3 separate regions of the Homo sapiens genome follow, and regions 1 and 3 are each linked to region 2. The links are contacts of gene promoters, found by promoter capture Hi-C in blood cells and fetal thymus (Javierre and others, 2016). All regions are on one chromosome and are shown on one strand. Each heading gives the region's core, a stretch centred on a gene start or on the middle of the fragment in contact. The rest is flanking DNA. Distances are from core to core; before and after follow the strand shown.

The links. The method cuts DNA at HindIII sites, captures the fragments that hold promoters and counts their contacts. A CHiCAGO score of 5 or more calls a contact.
Region 1: a contact is called between a fragment that was not itself captured here and the fragment with the promoter of GPRC5D in region 2, in 4 of 17 cell types (M0 macrophages, M2 macrophages, M1 macrophages and 1 more). The highest score is 6.5, in M0 macrophages.
Region 3: a fragment that was not itself captured here is called in contact with the fragment with the promoter of GPRC5D in region 2 in 2 of 17 cell types (monocytes and naive B cells); the score reaches 6.6 in monocytes.

What each region holds. Positions count from the first base shown.
Region 1 is chr12:13,237,525-13,241,647 of GRCh38, forward strand. No RefSeq gene overlaps it. Among named protein-coding and RNA genes, the nearest start is that of EMP1, 43 kb to the left of the region's middle. The HindIII fragment of the contact is 524 bases long and covers 1,111-1,634 here.
Region 2 is chr12:12,950,296-12,954,504 of GRCh38, forward strand. GPRC5D (G protein-coupled receptor class C group 5 member D) reads right to left here and starts at 1,875. Exons shown (of 4, transcript NM_018654.2): 1 at 1,812-1,875; 2 at 1-134. The coding sequence starts at 89. The region is part of intron 1 of GPRC5D-AS1 (GPRC5D and HEBP1 antisense RNA 1); the gene reads left to right. The HindIII fragment of the contact is 5,823 bases long and covers 1,833-4,209 here.
Region 3 is chr12:13,219,814-13,223,609 of GRCh38, forward strand. EMP1 (epithelial membrane protein 1) reads left to right here. Exons shown (of 5, transcript NM_001423.3): 5 at 1-128. Among named protein-coding and RNA genes, the nearest start is that of EMP1, 25 kb to the left of the region's middle. The HindIII fragment of the contact is 5,422 bases long and covers 1-3,796 here.

The sequences.
Region 1 (4,123 bases), core at 123-2,622, 290 kb after region 2:
CTAAGAGCAAATGATGTCTTCCATAATATGGATGCAGTCATGGCCAAATGTATATTCAGCAGTATGTTCCTCCCATCGCTGCTCTGGGGAGATAACGGATAATGCTATTCCTCCAGTAGTGTGAAGTGAGAGGGGGTCAAGAAAACATTTTCAGTTTAGAGCAACGGGGCGTGAGATGCATCCAATCTTATGCAATCCTAAGTCCCTGGGCACGAATGGAATTTGTAACCAGCAAAGAAATTCTTTATAATAATTTAATTTGTATGTGAGATTGAGCTTGTGAGAGTGAGTGACAGAGAGGTAGAGGGGAAAAGACAGAGGGAATGAGAGGGGAGAAAGACAATGAAAAAGATGAATGAGAATGAATAATGGGAGGCAAAGATAAAGGAAAAGCAATATAAAGCAGAGAGGGGAGAGAAAAGAAGTAATAACTTCTGATAATTGCGGAAATATATCACAAACATAATTGTATAAAAGGAGGGATTTAGATAGTGAACAGGAAAGTTGAGAGCATGGCTGAAGGTAGAAGAAAGAAGGAAGAAATGAATAACAGGAAAACAAAGAGAGAAAAAAAAGGAAAACATTTCAAGGAATAGGTAGGAAACAAGATGTGCCTTGGGAATTTCAATGAATTATTTTGTCTCCCAAGTTTTAAACTTACAATGTGTTCTGCCATGACGGTCTAATTCTCAATTAAGATATGCTAATAAGGCTGACCGCATACCATATACTCGCCATGCCTGATAAGCAGTTTAGCTTCTTTTTGGGTTTGGTGGGAGAGCAGTTATGTTTCCACACTGAAGTTTCTCATTGGCTTTCCTCCTACAAAGGCGCAAAATGACCACATGTTGTTCTTACTAATATTTGTTTTAGTCTGACACACTTCGATCTCTGCCGAGTTGACTACTAACTGCTTCGTACACACTTCGTATTCCTCCACCTGCTTTCAGTTACCTTCATTAAAAATATTCACATAAATCTTTATTAATAGAGAAAAATGGATTCACTCTGGTTTATTTATCTGTGGGTAAGTTTAATTATTTTCCAGTATGCAAAGCATCTTAGGAGGCTGCAAACATGGCTCAGAAGTAACATTGCCAGAAAAGGGGAAGCTTGTGCCATAGAGTCAACTTGCTGACCTGCAAGTAACAGACAGTGAATGTTAGCTGAATGATGGTAATTGAGTGAAAATTTGGACTGCCCTTCAAGGGATGTTAGAAAGAGTATCAGAAAAGGGCAGGAAGACTTAACATATATAGTGACCAATTACTGAGCATCCAAGCATAGTGAAAATCACCGTGCATATATTATCACATTTCACAGAAGCAGAACCCATTCTTTTTCATATGCAAATTTCTCCTTAAAAATCTCTGTCCTATGATACTGTGGGAACTCTAGGCTACTTCTCGATGGCTTCTAGGCATCCCCAGGAAGTGCGTATATTCTCCTGAAATCATTGCCAAGGGCTTACTGCAGATTATCCCAGGTTTCTCCTGCTGGGCTCACCTTGCCTCTCCACAGTGCACCACAATTTCTGGTCCGCTCCATCTTAAGATGTCATTGTAGATCTTCCCTTTATTTCCAAAGCCAATGCAATCACAAAGATATGGAGAGTAGCAATGGTTAAGATTATAAGCTTTGCAGTCAAACTTCTTGAGTTCAAATCCAGGCTCTGAATCTTACTAGTTGTATGACCTTAAGTTACTTGTATGACCTCCTGTACCTCAGTTTTTTACTCAGTTTTTTTACCTCAGTGAAATGAGGCTGATAATAATACTTTTTTCCCTGGGTTGCCATGAAGATTAAATAAGTTAACTCATTCTGCGAGTTAATTTTTATGTGAGATTGAGCCCGTGAGAATGAGTGACAGAGAGGTAGAGGGAAAAAAATGGAGGGAGTGAGAGAGGAGAAAGTGGGAAAGACAATGGAAAAGATAAATGAGAATGAATAATGGGAGGTAGAGATAAAGGAAAAGCAATAGAAAGCAGAGAAGTTAATTCATTAAAATACATAGAGCACTTTGAAGAATGCTTGCTATGTTGTAAGTACTTAATAAAGTTCGTTATTAGTGACAGGTTGTAAGGGTTAGGAAATTTTTTACTGAACACATGCATTTCTTAGGTTATAAAAAAGTATAGCTTTGAGGAGAAACAATGTGAAATTGGAAAACAGATTCTGCTGCTGCTAGAATCCATTGGCCAGTCCCTAATGCAGTCTCCCAGGGTTGTCTCCCTCCTTAGTCTCTGCCATCTTGCTGGAGCCATACTCTTCCATAGTCCATGCATTCTTGTCTCCCATTATTCCCCACGTCTTGAATCACAACTCCTAGAGTCTCAAGGAAGCCAAAAACAAGTAAATAGCATGACAGTCTCTGCCCCCAAGGCCTACAACTCTTTCATTTTGCTGTTTAGAAGTCAGAGGTCTTTATGGTATTAATCCCTCCCCCTAGATTGGACACTGAGTCTTACATCTGCATAACCACAAGTCCCACTCAAGTGTTTCACAAATAAAATGACAGTCTTCGCCCCAAAGATGAATTCTCCTGGCATTCCTACGATAAGGATAGGGTTGTAGGGGGGTGGGAACCCCTCCAGAGGCTCAGGATTTGTCATTAGCATTGAACATACTAAAAACATATGCTTTGACTAAGGCAGGCTTGTTCTGAGCCCTTGAAGCATGTTTGGTGTTCTTGATGGCCATCATCTTGAAGAAAAACCTGAGGTGCTTCCAAAAATATTCTAGGCACTAAATTAGTGAAGACGTACACTTTGTGGCAATGAGTCTGCAACTGTTCCTTGAAAACATCTGATGAGGCTGGAAAATAAGGTAAATGATTATATATATATATGCTTCCCCTCGCTACAAAATATACTGCCATAATCATCCTGGCTTGTGTTTCCACCACTTTGCAGAAATAGTTTTTTTTGAAAACTGTCAGTGTTCTCCAAGATGCTGTGTCATGTGGCTTTTCTTAACCCACATCTCCCTTCTTGACTCTTTAGGATGTTTGGGATTATTGAAATTCAGTTTTTATTGGATCTCCTGGTCCTTCAGTCTCCTGATTTTCCTTGAACCTCTGTTGCTCCTTCTTAATATATATATATATATATTTTTTGGCCTTCTCTTCTTTCCCCTTTCCTTCAAGTGTTTTTATGGCCAAGGTTTTGTCCTGGACTTTTTTTCTGTTTCTTACATTTTCTCCTTTAGTAACCTGATTCATTGCTATAGCTTCACATATAATTTCTCTGTAAATGAATCCCAAATTTATATCTCTAGCTTTGACATTTCCCCTGTCCATTTCATCTTTTTTTTTTTTTTTTTTGAGATGGAATCTCGCTCTGTCGCCCAGGCTGGAGTGCAGTGGCATGATCTCGGCTCACTGCGACCTCCACCTCCCAGGTTCATGCCATTCTCCTGCCTCAGCCTCCCGAGTAGCTGGGACTACAGGCGCCCGCCACCACGCCCGGCTAATTTTTTGTGTTTTAGTAGAGACGGGGTTTCACCGTGTTAGCCAGGATGGTCTCGATCTCCTGACCCCGTGATCCACCTGCCTTGGCCTCATCTTTGTTTTTGGATATTCAGCTGAGACTTTAATCTCAAAATCTTTATCTTTAAAATCAATGGCATTTGTTAATGTCTTTTTTTCTTACTAACAATACCACAGTCTTTCACTGACACAGATTTAAAATCTCTAAGCCAATTTTTTTTTAAATCATGATGCACTATAAGAAATGCATTTTACATCATACACACACCCACACACACATATATATACATGTGCAAACACACATGTAAGTGAAACAAAATTTCCCCCAAGAGTACTTACCCTTATTATGTTTGATATACTGTAATCTGTTTTATTCCAATCTATTTCATTCCATTAAAGAATTTGGTTGTAAACCATTAAATTAATTTCATGACCCACTAAAGATACGAATTGCTGTTCCAAAAATACTGCTTTTAAATACTTTTTCATTCATCTTTCTCTTTTAACTCCCAAATCCAATCAGTAGTGAGTTTACTTTCAAAATGTCTTGTATATTCAATCTTTTTCTAAAATTTTCTCTCTGATGCTTTCAAAAGTTTACTTTTATTGGGAGGCCTTCTCCACTTTCTTCAGCTA
Region 2 (4,209 bases), core at 625-3,124:
GCCAGGGACTCCAGAATGATGCCCCATGGCCCCTCGGCGTCACAGAGAAGAAAATAGTCTCCAGTGGACTCGATGCAGTCCTTGTACATGGTGACTTATGGGTGTGGACCTCACCAGAATGGTTTTCTGATGCCCTGCAGAAAAAGGATGAGACAAATTGACAACTCTGCATCTCTTAGGTTGGTGCAAAAGTAATTGTGCTTTTTGCTATTAAAAGTAATGGCAAGAAGGCTGGGTGCGGTGGCTCACTCCTGTTATCCCAGCACTTTGGAAGGCTGAGGCGGGCCGATCACTTGAGGTCAGCAGTTCAAGACCAGCCTAGCCAACATGGTGAAACCCCATCTCTACTAAAAATACAAAGATTAGCCGGGTGTGGTGGTGCACACTTGTAATCTCAGCTACTCGGGAGGCTGAGGCAGGAGAATCGCTTGAACCCAGGAGACAGAGTTTACATTGAGCCGAGATTGCCCCACTGTACTCCAGCCTGGGTGACAGAGTGAGACTCTGTCTCAAAAAGCAAAAAACAAGGCAGGGTACAGTGGCTCATGCTTGTAATCCTAGCACTTTAGGAGGCCAAGGTGGGTGGATCACTTGAAGTCAGGAGTTCAAGACCAGCCTGGCCAACATGGTGAAACCCCATCTCTACTAAAAACACACATAAAAAATTAGCCGGGCATGATGGCATGCGCTTATATTCCCAACTACTTGGGAGGCTGAGGCAGGAGAATTGCTTGAACCCAGGAGGCAGAGGTTGCAGTGAGCCAAGATCGCACCACTGCACTCCAGCCTGGGCGACAGAGTGAGACGCTGTCTGAAAACAAAAACCGAAAAACAAAAAACACACAAACAAAAAAAGTAACGTCAAGAACCGCAACTGCTTTCGCACCAACCTAATACCTACAAGAATGCCTATTGGGTGGTCCATGCTGGGCACTGTAATTTCTCTCATTCTGAAATGAAGACACCTGGGCATATGAAATAAATGTCCTTACCAAAATTGTTCCTAGGACACTGTCAAGAGCCTGAGTTACATTTTGTTTGACTCCTGATACTTATCTAAATGCTAAGCTTCCCTGGGGGAAGAAATTCAGAGATATATGCAAACATAGTCTAAGGGGATGGGAAATGCCATCACACATATTACCCCAAATTTATAGCAGTTTTATATAGGATGTCAGTAAAGGAAATGAGAAAGGCAACCTAAACCCTTCAAAACTATCTTGGCTTCATCCTGCTGGGAAAAGCTGAACAGGCTTCACTTGATAATATGTCCATTTGTGTATGCTAATTTCCAAGGCTTTGAAAGCTAATACAAAATCTTTTTCATAAAAGGAGGTGTATGAGAATGTTTGCATGATTGATGGAATTCAGTTATATCAGACTCCAGAACAAGGACTGCCAACATTAATGGATCATTGGATCGTTCTAGACACTGATGCACTGCTTGAAGGAGACAGGCAGATAAATTACTGGGAATAAAATTTCCCAGTAATTTTAATGACTGTTCCTTCTTTCAGTTAATTCAAGTCAATCCAATGCAGCAGGTTGTAGTTAAACACCTATTGTGTGTTCATCAAAGAATTGTACAAAATGGTCCCTTTCTTTAAATACCTTTTTGAACAGTTTAGTACGAAAGTCCATGTCTTGACTGAGGTAGCCTAGGAAAAAGATCCCACATATTCATTTGAAAAAAAAAAATCAATTGCAATTGAATACCCCTTAGCTCTACTTCCCTTCAGTTATCCCCAGACCAGATGGCTGGAGTGACCCAGGTTTACAGCTGAGAACATGGCCCCCCAATTCCAACTTACCTTCTCCGTGTCCACTCTGGAAGCTTAGGCTGTAGTGCTGGCAAAGTTGTAACTGCCAATGAGTAAGAAAGAGCCAACCTCAGCTTCTTTAATCTCTCCCCAAATGGGCGGAAGAACCGTAGGCTCTCACTGAGGTTCCTGCAGTATCTATAAAAAGAACCGGAAGGACAGAAAGACACACCTATTCCAGTTTCACAGCAACTTTTCTACAGAGATTTCCTTGGTGAGAATAATTCTTTTTCATTCTACTGCTGACCAGAGGCACCTTGGCCTTAGGGAGCGGGTGTAAATCTGAAAGTGGGTATAAATCTAGGAAAGACGGCTTCCTCCCTGTGTATTGCAACACATTCAGGGAAGCTACACAAGGCCCTCAGGTGACTTACACCAGGATACCTCGTCCTTCTTCTGACCTATTGCCTAAAAAGCCATCTCTGGAGACTTTCTCACATCTTGATTTTTTTTTTTTTTTTTTTTTTGAGATAGAGTCTTGCTCCATCACCCAAGCTGGAGTGCAATGGCACGATCTCGGTTCATTGCAACTTCTGGCCTCCCGGATTCAAGCAATTCTCCTGCCTCAGCCTCCCGAGTAGCTGGGATTACAGGCGCATGCCACCACATTTTGTATTTTTAGTAGAGACGGGGTTTCACTATGTTGGCCAAGCTGGTCTCAGACTCCTGACCTCGTGATCTGCCCGCCTTGGCCTCCCAAAGTGCTGGGATTACAGGTATGAGCCACCTTGCCCGGCCCCCACATCTTGATTTTAATTCAAAAGAGCATCCATTCAACAAAGTACAGGTAATGAGGTTTCACTGGGCCATAAGGAAGGGTGGTTTTGTCTACTACTGGCATTAAAATGGCCAGTGGCAGGCAAAACTGTGAATCAGTCTGTGAATTTATCCCAAGATAAAGAACTGACAATTAAAGGTCACCGGCTGATACTTGAATACCATATTCCTTTTCTTCTATGGTGACACAAAATACAGCACAGCACAGTGTCCAGCCTACACCCACCAACCGCACCCCGCCACCTCCAATTTACTCCTTGATTTTCTTCCTGAATATATGTTTGTTTTTTTTTTTTTTTGAGATGGAGTCTCGCTCTGTCGCCCAGGCTGGAGTGCAGTGGCGCGATCTCGGCTCACTGCATCCTCCGTTTCCTGGGTTCAAGTGATTCTCCTGCCTTGGCCTCCCGAGTAGCTGGGATTACAGGTGCATGCCACCACGCCCGGCTAGTTTTTTATATTTTTGGTAGAGACGGGGTTTTACCATGTTGGCCAGGCTTGTCTTGAACTCTTGACCTCAAGTAATCTGCCTGCCTCTGCCTCCCAAAGGGCTGGGATTACAGGTGTGAGCCACCACACCCAGCCCCTGAATATATGTATTTCGACAGAGGACTGCTGAAGACCCCAAACCAGTGTCTGGTTTCAAGGTGCTTGTGATCTGGCTCTCCCTTTCTTACCCACCTGTACTTCCTTCACATCTCCAGGCTCTATGGTTTAGCCTCCTTGGTTTTCCCACTGGCTCACAAAAAAAATAAGTTCCCAAGTGCTCACCTCTGTCCCTGTCCGAAACTGCCTTGTGCTTGATTCCCATTTATCCTATTTTTGACCCAAATTCATTCCCTCCCTGTAGGATTTTCTTCACCTTATCTCCTCTATGACTCTTCCTGCCTTCCCTCATCATTCTAGACCTCGCTGATCACCTTCCACCAGGAACTATACAAGACTTGGGGTCTGTTCTGTTCAAAATTACAGAAACCCTATTTTCTGCCTATTAGTTAACTTATGAATACATATTAAGTAATAATGAATTGAAATAAATGAATAATAAATGTCTCAATTTCTGTTATATGAATTAATCTCATCTCCTGATTGGATTTATAGCTGTCTAGGGGTCAGGTTCCACATTTTATGTCCCCATAGTACCTGCTTCTATGTGGAGAACCTCCTGGGTGATGGATAATTCAATTAATGGAATGATTCTAAAGATAAAATTCCAGATCTTTCAGAAGGTCCTTTTTAGTGGTGTGGTTTTTCAACAGATGTGTGTTAATGGAAAACACCTGCAAATAAGTGAGAGACTTAACAAACCCTTGACAAAATCATTCTGAAGTGGTGTTCTATCTTTAGAGTTCCTTAACTTCAAAAAGCCATTTTCTCCTATGAGAGAAGAAGATTCTAGGGATGATAGAATTTTCTTACATCCAATTACACCTTAAGCTCCCCTTTACCTGCTTTGGGTATAATAGCAGTCTTTCCGAAGCTGTGAAGGCTAATGTTTACGTTAAGGGTAAAGGGATTTTTCAGATGATGAAATGTGACATCCGTGAGCATCCACTCAAAGAGCATAGTGAGTGGTTAAACTGCTGTCAGCAGAACTGCAGGAGGATTTTCCATT
Region 3 (3,796 bases), core at 927-3,426, 270 kb after region 2:
TGCTTGGAACTCAGAGTATATTTTTCCATACGAAAAATTCAGAACTATTTTATTTATGATATGGGCTAAAAAGACTTCTGTAATCTAGCTTGGAAACTTAATAATCATTAAACTTATTTTCAATGAGATACGACTGTTTAAATTCTGAAACCTGGAACCCTCTGTTGCCCTGCAAATGCTTTAGGAAAAGAAGAGTGTGTCTGATGGAGGATAAGATGGAAAGTGAATATGGATCCATATTCAGAAGACACGGTTGCATTACAGCAAAGGAACAGCTTTTTGCTGGCCATGCTAAGCATTTGACATTGATGTGGGAGAACATGGCATTCAGTATGACTCTGTCTGGATATATATAGTTTTGTAAATTGGGTGTTCTTAAGTTGAGACTGCATGTTTCATTCCAAAATCAATCTTAGTTTTCCCACTTGCATTAGCATATTGTATTAGTCCGTCTTCACACTGCTATAAAGACATACCCGAGACTGGGTAATTTATAAAGAAAAGAGGTTTAATTGACTCACAGTTCTGCATGGCTGGGGAGGCTTCAGGAAACTTATAATCATGGCAAAAGGGGAAGAGGTACGTCTTACATGGTGACAGGGGAGAGAGAGCATGCAAGAGAAGGGAAAACTGCATTATAAAACCATAAATTTTATAGAACCCACTATCCCAAGAACAGCATGAGGGAACCACCCTCATGATCCAATCACCTTCCACGGGGTCCCTCCCTCAACACATGGGGATTTGGGGGATTACAATTCAAGATGAGATTTGGGTGGGGGAACAGCCAAACCATATCATGTATCAATGCTTAAATTCAGTTTATCTGGGAATTTTGAATGATTCCAACTCCTTAGTATAGACATTTACAGGCTTTTGGGCATTATGAAATCGTACTATTTTTAATTTGATTTCACCACTTCTCCTCTGTCTTATAAAAAGCTGACATTGAGCACATGTGTCCTTATAATTTTTAAGGTGAATCAAAAGTAAACCTGTTTTGAGTATTTGGATATAGTTTTGCAGTAGCTCTTGAGGTTACTAGGGTTGCAAAATCAAGTTTGAGAATTATAGTGCTAGATTTATGGGTGAAATGGATTACACTAATTAGTCTGACATTTAGTCACCTTGTTTTAAAAAAGCAAGGCAATATTCTGGCAGTGATATTGAACTCCAGATTTCTTTCCATATACTCACTTATGAAATTTACTTCAACATGGCATACCAGAACTGACTACTAATTTCTTTCCCCAGAATAATTTAAATTCTTTACGTCTCATTGTATTTAGTACTTGTCAGAGCTCCTGGAAGGACAGATAAAAGATAAATGCAGACAATTATTCATTGCTCAGCTTAGGTTCATTTCAGCCGGTCATTCTCTTGACCTTACCCTGGACGTCCTTATTCCCCAGAACCACTCTTCCTAATTCAGAGGAACGTGCGTGGCTCCTAATTTCTGGAGCTAACACCCACTACCACCAGTTTTGAACTCCATGCTCTTTTTTATTTTCCAGATGGAGTCTTGCTCTGTCACCCATGCTGGAGGACAGTGGCGCCATCTCTGCTCACTGAAACCTCCTCCTCCTGGGTTCAAGCAATTCTCTTACCTCAGCCCCCCAAGTAGTTGGGATTATAAGCGTGTGCTACCACACCTGGCTCAATTTTATATTTTGTATTTTTAGTAGAGATGTTGGCCAGGCTGGTCTCCAACTCCTGACCTCAAGTGATCCACCCACCTCGGCCCTCCCAAAGTGCTGGGATTACACGTGTGAGCCACCGTGCCTGGCCAGAAGGCTGTGCTCTCTTAGCTCTTCAAGGATGCTCTATTGTTATTCTTCTTCTCCCTATATCTCTACTGGAGATTTTGTCTTGTGGGTAAAATATGCTTAAGTTTACCATATCTTAAGCAAAAGAAAACACACAAACAACAACAAAAAAATCACTCCTCTCTATACTAATACTTTGCCTCTTGGTCTCTTATTATCCGTCTCCACCAGGCCCTGTCTCTGGGGTCAAGGGTAAGAGCTCACATAGAGGCACACCATATATCTACATATTTGAAAGTTGTAATATCAAGTTAACAAGCCATTAAATAAAAGTGTTCTATTGTCCTACCTTGATAGAAATACCTAGAAGGTCAGGTTAAATTGAAAAAACTCAGACTCCTTGTAGTCCTGGGGTAGAAGTCGGCTTACTGGGGGAGTGGGTGTCAGGCTCTCTGCTCATAGCTTGACTTTCTTCTCCCTTCCTCCTCTGCCCCATCTCCCACCATGAGAGACACGGAGTGCATATGAGTGGGTACTCCGGCCCACACATCTGAGAACAGCCCTCACCCATGCCCCATCTTGCAGACAGCTGCCCCTGGGCCATCTCATAGGCCATCCCATAACACAGTCCACTCTCTATTTGACAGGCCCAGGGAGAGGGGCTTAGTCATGAGCATGAGGACATTTGGCCAGGGACTTTGGCAGCACGAGCAATCAAAATGCAGTCTGGCAGCAGGGTGTGGCCTCCAGGTGGGTGTGCTCCTTTGGTCCTGAGCCCAAGGACTTCTTGCCCCCGGGAGGGTGTGGCTGGAGGAGGGTTGGAGCAAAGCCAGGAAAGCACAGGCCTAGAGAAGGCCTCCCGCCTGATCTAAGGGTGCAAGGCTCAGGCCTCTCTTCCCACTCCCTCACCTCGGGCCTCCCTGGAGCCAATCAGCTTCTGCCCTCAGCACTCCAAAGTGATAGCTCTGCTGAGGATCAAGATTCACTTTATATTCTCCAATCCAATGGGCACTCTTAGCCTGTACCTTTTTGTTTTTTTTTTTTTTGCCTGCTGCTTATTGTATCTTTGTATTTTGCATGGGATTTAATTAAAATTCCTATAATGAATGATCACCTATATTGGAATGAATCCAAAAACTGCATCTAGACTCAGATCAGCTTTCTGAAGCCAGGGCCGTAAGAACTACAAATTCAACTGAACCCCTGAAGTTCTCCTCCCTTTCTTTGACTTCCCCATCTCAGGAAATAGCCACCTATCACTTAGAATTACAGGCCAGATATCCAAGCGTCACTCACCATTCCTCCTTCTCCCCCATTCTTCACATTTAATTAATAACTGTATCTTGGTGATTCTAATTCCCAAATATTTCTAGATTCTTTCCCTTTCTTTCCATTCCCTTCAGTGTGATCTTAGTTTAGACCTTTAATTGCATTTATTTAAAGTAGCTGAATAGGCTCATAAGAATTCACTGCTCCAACTAATTTTCCACTCTGTTGCAAAAACTGATTTTCTTGCAGTGCAAATATGAGCGTGCCATTCTCCTGCTTTTAATCCTTCATTTTCTCCTTCAGGTTGTGCAGGATAAAATTCAGAACTTGTCTATTGCTGCCTTTTCCCCCATGGCCACTCTATCCCAGGGCTAAAACACACACTTATACCATGTTGTGGGGGTTTTCCCCACATGTCATTTGTTTTTCTGAAGGTCCTTCCCCTGGTATCCGGCTAACTCATCCTGATTTCACAGGATCAGAGCACATTCCTCATCTCCAAAAGGGTGGCCTGATGCCCCAGGCCCTACTGAAATGAGCTTTGTCAATGTTTACATAATATCATATGTGTATTTCATCAGAGCATTTGTCACAGAATATTTGAATAGTGGGTTAAACTGCATGCTTCTCTCACTGGACCATGAGCTACAAGAGGGCAGGGAACTCATATTTCATTTCCTTTCCTTCAGCATTTAGCAGGATGCCTGGCAATTAGCAGATGTTCAATATAATTGTGTGAGAAGGGCTGGGGAAGGTGCTGG